Linked DNA regions of Homo sapiens: region 1 is linked to region 2. Evidence: promoter capture Hi-C in 16 types of primary human blood cells and fetal thymus (Javierre and others, 2016). All regions are on one chromosome and are shown on one strand. Each heading gives the region's core, a stretch centred on a gene start or on the middle of the fragment in contact. The rest is flanking DNA. Distances are from core to core; before and after follow the strand shown. Region 1 overlaps MPP2 (MAGUK p55 scaffold protein 2). Region 2 holds the start of NAGS (N-acetylglutamate synthase).

What was found. Contacts are between HindIII fragments. The CHiCAGO score rates a contact against its expected background, and 5 or more counts as called.
Region 1: a contact is called between a fragment that was not itself captured here and the fragment with the promoter of NAGS in region 2, in 2 of 17 cell types (naive CD4 T cells and endothelial precursors). The highest score is 8.9, in naive CD4 T cells.

Annotation. Positions count from the first base shown.
Region 1 is chr17:43,872,709-43,877,567 of GRCh38, forward strand. MPP2 (MAGUK p55 scaffold protein 2) reads right to left here. Exons shown (of 13, transcript NM_005374.5): 13 at 2,652-4,859. Among named protein-coding and RNA genes, the nearest start is that of CD300LG, 28 kb to the left of the region's middle. The HindIII fragment of the contact is 5,220 bases long and covers 259-4,859 here.
Region 2 is chr17:44,002,274-44,006,120 of GRCh38, forward strand. It overlaps NAGS (N-acetylglutamate synthase), which reads left to right and starts at 2,349. Exons shown (of 7, transcript NM_153006.3): 1 at 2,349-2,816; 2 at 3,364-3,638; 3 at 3,751-3,847. The coding sequence starts at 2,391. It also overlaps a transcript of PYY not described here. RefSeq lists an enhancer at 3,272-3,847. The HindIII fragment of the contact is 18,802 bases long and covers 1-3,847 here.

The sequences.
Region 1 (4,859 bases), core at 1,619-4,118, 130 kb before region 2:
GGGGCAGAATTTGTCCATTCTTTCTGTTTTTTCTGTTTGGGGTTTGGTCTGTACTGTCCTTTTGTCATTATTTCAAAATTTGAAAGAATTTTTTGCCCCACCCACAGCACCTATCAAGGGCGGTGAATAGGAGAGGGAGGGTGAAGATTGGCCTGTACCGTCTTCTTTTGTGGCTGCAGAAATACTAACTTTAACTTTGGCTTTGAGAATGCAAACGTGGATTGTAAGCATGCACTGGCACCTGTGAGATGTACAAGAAGCTTAGGAAATTTTCTCAGAGCTTGTCAAGATGTGGGAATTGAGCTTCATCGCTCTACAATGTTGGCTCAAGCAATGGCTAGTTTAGTAGTTGATAAACCTAAAAGGAGCCAAGGGTCAAACCCTAAAGTGGGAAAGTGTTATAATTGTGGAAAAATTGGACATTTCAAAAAAGAATGCCGTCAGATCTCTGGAAAGAAGGGATCTTATAATACAGTTCCCTCCCGCACAATAGAAAAAAACACCAGGACTTTGCCCTCCTTTGCAATAAAGGAAATGATTGGGCTAATCAATGCCATTCAAAATTTCATCAAAACAGCACCCCCCTGTGGGGAAATGAGAAGGGGGCCTGGATGTGGGCACCTCAAACAATGAGGGCATCCCCAGTCCAGCCCACAACTCCGTTTCAAGGGTGGGTTTCCGGAGGCACATTGATTCCCTCTCCCCAGGAACACCTGGAAGCACAGGATTGGGTCTCCCAGTCAAAGAATGTGTTACTTTAGTTGGAGGAGACAAATCCACGAAGATTCCCACTGGGATTTGTGGACCTTTGCCAACAGGATACATGGGATTAATTTTAGGCAAAAGCTGTCTTAACTTACAGGGCATTACTGTAGTCCCAGGAGTTGTTAATTTGGATTATGAAGGAGAAATTCAAGTAGTGGTAATGTTACAAGATCTTTGGGTTTTGAACTGGGAGAATATATTGCTCAACTGTTGCTTATCTCCTGCAAATTACACCCTTCTCCACGAAAGAAGAAACAAGGGAATCAAGGATTTGGAAGTACAACTCGGAGGGACATTTATCTATCACAACCAATAGCATCTAGTAGACCCACTTGTGCAGTGCAAATTAAAAGTTTTGTGGGCTTATGGATACGGGAGCAAGAGACTGGCCTCTGGCAGTAATGGATCTTGGAGATTTTTTTTTTTTACTATACCTTTACACGAGAAGGATAAGCCTCGATTTGTTTTCTGTGCCTTCTGTTGATTGGAGAAAGCCTGTTTCTCATTATCAATGGAAAGTTTTACCCCAAGGCATGCTCAGCAGTCCTACGTCATGTCAGCATTTTGTAGGAAAAGCATTAAGGAACCTCAGAATATGTTTCCCACTGCCTATAGATTTACTAACGTGGGGACGAGGGTATGCTTATGTTTTTATAGGAGATGGACAAACCATGTGGGTGCCCTCAAGGTGTGTGCAACCATGGAACAGGAGACTGGAGGGACCCATGGATCCCAACCATGGGCCTGGTTCCCCTGGTATGAGCCATGAGCCAGTTGAATCTGAGTGCAAAGACAGAGTGAGGACTGACCAGAGTCACACTGACATCAACCCCCATAACATGAGGACAGATTTTGTTCAATTAATGTAAAAACAAAAAGGGGGAGATGTTGGAGGCCGAAAGAATGAGGGTCATGATCAACTCAGTATACCACTGGAGGCTGTATGAGCAAACTGTTCTCATAATGCAGAATGCTGGCAAACTGACAAACTGCGTCTGCCACCCAGAAGGAATGCTGAGGGCAGTCACACCTCAGGCGCAGTGTTTGTGATTATCTACAGGCACACATGAAGCCTGTCAGCAATTATGTGAACCTGTGATAAATCAAGCAGCTGACCAAAGGTTACCTGCTCCTCCCTGCTCTTTCTACCCAATAAATATGGAGGGCTGTGGAAGCTCAGGGCCCTTGCTCACTAGAAGCAAAAGCAAGGACCCCTTCTTTAAAGCAGATTCTTTTGTCTTGTTTTCATTTCTGCATTTGTCCTCTTTTGTTCGGTCCTGTAGTAACTGTCACAAGTGGCGTACATCCTCCTTCATTCAGTCCCATAGTGACAGTCACACAAGTGCAGGTATCTTTTTGGTGGAACGATTTCTTCTCCTTTGGGTAGATGCCCAGTGATGGGATTGCTGGAATGAATGGTAGTTCTATGAGAACTCCCCAAACAGCTTTCCACGGGGGCTGAACTAATGTACGTTCCCACCAATAGTGTATAAGCACTCCCTCTTGTCTGCAACTTCACCAGCATCTCTTATTTTTTGACCTTTTAATAGCCATTCTGACTGGTGTGAGATGGTAACTCATGGTAGTTTTGGTTTGCATTTCTCTGATGATTAGTGACGTAAAGCACTTTTTCATACATTGTCACTTGTATGTCTTCTTTTGAGAAATGTCTGTTCATGTCCTTGGGTACAAGCACTTAGAAGGAGCATCTTCTGGGGATGGGGGAGTGTGCAGGGGCAAGACAGAGGAAAGGAAGACATCGCAGAAAACAAGACATGTTGCTCTGACTTCCATTCTAGTAGTCATCTGTGCTGTGCTCCCCAGCTCTCACTCTCTCCCAAAGCCATCCATCCAACCCCAACCAAAGAAAAGCAGAGCCAGAAGCCTTTGCTTTCACATTTAATCCAAGGAAAAAGAAAGAAAACCAATCAGTGAGAAAACTCAAGAATTGGATGGCTGAGGGAGGGAACAGAGGAAGCGCACTGGGGCTGGGACTGAATATGGACAGTGGATGGTAGGGTCCTCACTCTCTTGAGGTCCCTCAAATACAAGAGTCCACAATGGCAGGGAGGGAGAACAGAGTCATAGAGCTGTGGTGGGGGCACACACCTGTTCCAACCCAGCCCCAGCCCTGTTCCAGGTGAGCCAAGGACTGACAGCCTCTGCTAGGTACCTGGGAGGGCTGTGGAGTGAGGGCTCAGGCAGGGGAGGTAGGAGGCTGCTCAGAGAGGAAAGACCGAGAAGAGACAGGAGGGAAGGGCCCCAGGCCTGCCCCTTGAGCATCCCTAGCAGTGAAGGTGCCATGAAGGCCAGGTACCCAACCCATCTCCATCAGAGATGATGGTCATTTGGATCAAGGGGGCAGAAGCAGCTGCAACAACAGATCTTCCCCTGCCTCTACCCTCAAATCCCCCAGAGAAGGTAGGAAATGGCAAGTGACCCTATAGCCTCAGGTCAGCAAGAAAACACCCCATTTCCTTCCCACTCCCTTAGGCTGAGGGTGATGCAAGGCAGAGCTGAATCAGGATGAAAGGACACTGACTAAGGGAAAAGAGGAGCAGGAGAATGAGTGTGTAGTATACGCAGAGCCACACCAACGAGATGGGGGCAGGCCTGGCCTTTCCACCCCATGTGTATAGTCTATGCAAATGCAAATGAGATTCCTAGTATAAGAAATATATTCTAACATTTGTAATAAATATTCTGTTTATTCTCCTTCCCCTTCCCTAGGAAATGGGCACACAGTGGTTCAGGGGCCAGCTTTGGCTGACGCTGCAGCGAAGACTAGTTAGACACTTGGAAGAACTGGGAGGCACAAGGGTTTGGACTCAGGGTGTCACAGGTTGTCCCCTCTGAGGACAGGCTCCCCCCGGAAGGAATGCAGAGAATAATGAAGGATGAGATGCCCAAGTACATCTAGGACAGCATTCTTTCTTAAAGGGAGTCTCCTATTTTACAAAACTGCCCTCCCCAAGTTATGGCAGGGGGGCATTTAGGGTAGGGGGACAATAAGACAAGGGAGGAGACATCAGGAAAGGACCAGGGCTTTGGAGTCTGGGATCAGGGTATTATAAGAAATGAGGGCTGATGGGGAACCCCCAGAAAGGGGCCCCAAAGAGTGACCTCCAAAACAAAACCCTTTGCTTCCTCCCCAAATTAAACCTGACACACACACACACACACGCACGTGCACACGCACACACATACACACAACCTGGTGCCAGAGGCACAGACAGGTGCCGAACATGCACGTGGAACCACAGGTTGTACAGACTACAGTGTAAATGGCGCCTCTGGAGTTGTGTGTGAGGAACCTCCTGGAGGGCAACTGTCCTTCAAGCCCAGGCTCCCAAGGTCCCCTCTGCACTCCTCCTTAGCCCCTCCAACCCAGCAGCCCTGATGCAAGTGGGCTACCTGGACCTGGCTAGACAGAAAACCAAATGGACCAAGGTCAAGGACATAGAGCTCAGACCTGTGCCTGCTGTGGGCCATGGAGAGCTTGGGGCTCTTCAGTTGGTAACAGCAGGTTGTCACAGGGCTCAGCCCTCCATCCTGCCCCTACCTGGGCTGAGCCCACTGGCCCCTGCCAGCCTGGCCCTGTGGGGAGCAGGGCTGACCTGTCAGGACACATTGGAGAAATCTGGAGAAACTTCGGCAGTGAGAAGCTGTGGATGAGGGAAGGACCGAGCAGCATCTGCCCTGCGACCCTGTCCCTTTCCAAAGGAGCTGGGAGCTGCAGTGCTCTGCAGCTGTGGCCACTAGCTCTCACTCTGACTCCTCCAGCCTTCAAGATGGCACCAGGCTGGCACCACCACCCGGGCCTGCCTGGCTGCCAGCGGGCCACACATTCCCCTGGTCACACGGAAACAGCCCAAGGCCTGTTCCTCCGACACAGGGGTGAGAGGTGGGAGGAGTCCAGGAATGGGGTGGGTGTGGCCAGTCCAGAGGAGAACTGGTGACTGGGGAGGGGTGGCAGGGGGCAGTGTGCCTACTGACCATGTGGTCCCAAAGCAGCTTTTCTCTTCTCTGTACTGACCATTATGGAGGTGACTCTGACACATTCCTGGGCATAGCTTGGCCCTCAGAGATATCTG
Region 2 (3,847 bases), core at 1,099-3,598:
CCTGGAGACTCCTCAGGAGGGAAGTAGCCCAAGCCCTGCTCCCCAAAAAGGCAGAGCCCCAGGTGTCAGGACTCCAGCATGGGGAGACAAAACCACGTGCAAGAAAGCAGGGAGGAGCAGGGGTAGGAACTGAGGGTGCTTAGGGTCTGGCCATGCCACTGACGAGCTGTGTGACCTTGGCCAGGTCACCTCCCCTCTACAACAACAGAGGGTCCTCTTTCCCCCTCTACAACAACAGAGGGTCTGACTGGATCAGAGTGTACCCAAGGGCAGGATGTGTGCAGCTGACAGTGCCCAGCACATGGACACAGTATGAAGTAACATTGAATCATATCCTGTGAATGTTTTCAAGCCTTTCAACTCCTTTCCAAAACTTGCTTAACAGCATGGATCTGGAGCAGAACTGCTTCCTAGACCAGCTCCACGGCTTGTGAGCTGAGTGACCCTGATCCTCACATATTTCTGTACCTCCATTTTCTCATCTGTAAAATGGGAATAATGATAATAGCTATCCTGGAGTCACTGAGAGGATTAAATGAATGACTATTTGTGAAGTCCTTTGCATAGTGCCTAGCATTCGACATGTGTTAGCTATTCCTCTACCACACAGAAGGCTTTGCTTGGTGCTAGGGTATCTTTAACACATGGCACCTGCTAACCTTCCATGTTACCAAGAAAGCAGGCAAGCTATGCAGATGGAATATAATGGAATGTAATAACATTGTTTTCCTCTCACTTGATTCTTTTTTAATTTTGATTTTAATTTTAATTTTAATTTTTTTGAGACAGGGTCTCATTCTGTCGCCCAGACGGGAGTGCAGTGGCACAGTCTCAGTTCACCGCAATCTCCTCCTCCCAGGCTCAAGTGATTCTCTGGCCTCCTGAGTAGCTGGGATTACAGAAACATGCCACTACTGCCTGGCTAATTTTTGTATTTTTAGTAGAGATGGGGTTTCACCATGTTGGCCAGGCTGGTCTTGAACTTCTGACCTCAAATGACCCACCCGCCTCCTCACTTGATTCTTAAGGCTTATGGCAAGTGATACTGGCCTAGTTACAGACCTAACATGGATAAACTTTAAGTTTAAAAAGGTTAAAGAGGGCCGGGCGTGGTGGCTCACGCCTGTAATCCCAGCACTTTGGGAGGCTGAGGCAGGTGGATCACGAGGTCAGGAGTTTGAGACAATCCTGGCCAACATGGTGAAACCCTGTCTCTACTAAAAATACAAAGATTAGCCGGGTGTGATGGTGTCTGCCTGTAATCCCTGCTACTCAGGAGGCTGAGGCAGGAGAATCGCTTGAACCCAGAAGGCGGGGATTACAGTGAGCCGAGATCGCAACACTGCACTCCAGCCTGGGCAATAGGGTGGGACTCCATCTCAAACAAACAAACAAACAAAAAAAAAAAAAAAAAAAAGGGTTACAGAGGTCGAGTGAAGTAGCTCACACCTGTAATCCCAGCACCTTGGGAGGCAGAAGTGGGAGGACTGCTTGAGCTCAGGAGTTCACGAACAGTCTGGGCAACATGGTGAACACCCGTCTTCAAAAAAAATAATTTTTTTTTAAATCAGCTGGGCATGGTGGTGTGCATTTGTGGTCCCAGCTACTAGGGAGACTGAGGCAGGAGGATCATTTGAACCTGGGAGGTGGAGGCTGCAGTGAGCTATGATTGCACCACTGTACTGCAGCCTGGGCAACAACAGAGTGAGACCCTATCTCAAAAACCAAAATAAAAAACTCTATTTTATTTTATTTTTACCAGATGTGATATTCGATAAAGAAAAGCATTAACACTAAAGTATTATAAGTTTTGAGGGGTGTTTTGAGGATATCACAGAATTCCTCAAGCTGGTACCCAGTGACTGGAGTTTGGCAAACCCTGGTAACCTCATGGTCATTCATTAGGATCTTTTTTGAGCTCAGGCAACAGGACAGACAAGGCCAGCACCACCCGCCCCCGCCCTCCCACTGCCCCCCTTCTTCTACTCTTTCCAGCGCCCTCCTTCCAGCCCCCTGCCCAGCCCTGTGCTCAAAGCCACCTACAGTCCCTTCTTCTCTGGTCAGAATGCCAATCATCCAAGGCCCTGCAGACTCCCAAAGCCGCCCCTGGAACCTACCTTGGCAGCAGATTAAAGACAACCCGCCACATTTAGTCTCGGCCCCATGACCGATAGTGGGTTCAGTTCCTCCAGGGGCGGGGGAGCCTAGTGGCCCCGCCCCCTGACTCATGGCCTGACCCTCCTCAAACGCACCCAGAGGAGACTCCTGGTCCCCTGTCCGGACCCCGCCCCGACCAGGTCCAGCCCCGCCCAACGGCAAGTTAAGAGCCCCCCAGTGCCAGACGCTCCAGACAGACTGCCACTCTTGGGGGGCAAGAGTTGGTTGTCGTCATGGCGACGGCGCTGATGGCTGTGGTTCTGCGGGCAGCTGCTGTAGCCCCGAGGCTGAGAGGCCGGGGAGGCACTGGGGGCGCCCGAAGGCTGAGCTGTGGCGCGCGGCGGCGGGCGGCGAGGGGCACCAGCCCGGGGCGCCGGCTCAGCACCGCCTGGTCGCAGCCCCAGCCCCCGCCCGAGGAGTACGCGGGCGCGGACGACGTCTCCCAGTCGCCCGTCGCCGAGGAGCCGTCGTGGGTGCCGAGTCCCAGGCCCCCGGTGCCCCACGAGTCCCCAGAGCCTCCTTCGGGCCGCTCGCTGGTGCAGCGGGACATCCAGGCCTTCCTGAACCAGTGCGGGGCCAGCCCTGGGGAGGCGCGCCACTGGCTCACGCAGTTCCAGACCTGCCATCACTCCGCGGACAAGCCCTTCGCCGTCATCGAGGTGAGCGGAGCCCGGCGTGGGCCGTGACGCAGCGAGGGGATGGGGTTGTGCGGCCACCTGTCCTCAGGCATGGCAGGATACGCTGCGGGCTCTGCGCAGCGGAAGCGGGAAGGAGCCCGGCAGGGCCCAGACCAGCGCCGCCGGGAATGGGAGAGGCCGTAAGCTCCTCCGGAAGCCTCCCGCCCAGCCCGAGTGAGGATCCTGGGGGACCCCACCCGCCAGGTGTGATGCTCTGAAGAAGGCCCCCAACATGGGCGCAGTTAGGGGTTCAGAAGGACCTGGACAGGAGCCGCTTGCACTGCCCCTCCCCCAAAGATGTCCCGGAGTCCAAGGTCGGAGGGAGGAGGGCGGGAGGTACCCCAGCGTGAGACAAGGGAGTGGCAAGACCCAACGGGGCAAAGGGCGGAGCAGGTGGGCACTGGTGGCCAGAACTGGGTCCTGACAGCTTCTGGAAGGGTAGGGTCACCGAGACGGCCCTGCAGGCCAGGCTGTGGGAGCCAGCGGCTCAGGTCCGTGTCACGCTCCTTGAAAGCCCACTCCTCCGCAGGTGGACGAGGAGGTGCTCAAGTGCCAGCAGGGCGTATCCAGTCTGGCCTTTGCCCTGGCCTTCTTGCAGCGCATGGACATGAAGCCGCTGGTGGTCCTGGGGCTGCCGGCCCCTACGGCTCCCTCGGGCTGTCTTTCCTTCTGGGAGGCCAAGGCGCAGCTGGCCAAGAGCTGCAAGGTGCTGGTAGACGCGCTTCGACACAACGCCGCCGCTGCTGTGCCATTTTTTGGCGGCGGGTCTGTGCTACGCGCTGCCGAGCCGGCTCCCCATGCCAGGTGAGTGCCCGCCCTGCCCGCCCAGGCGTCCTCAGAGCGTGCTACTCTGCCCGCCCTGCCCCGTCCGGCAGGCCTGGAGGGGGCCCTCTCGAGCACCACGTCTGGCCCACAGCTACGGCGGCATCGTCTCGGTGGAGACAGACCTGCTGCAGTGGTGCCTGGAGTCGGGCAGCATCCCCATCCTGTGCCCCATCGGGGAGACGGCCGCG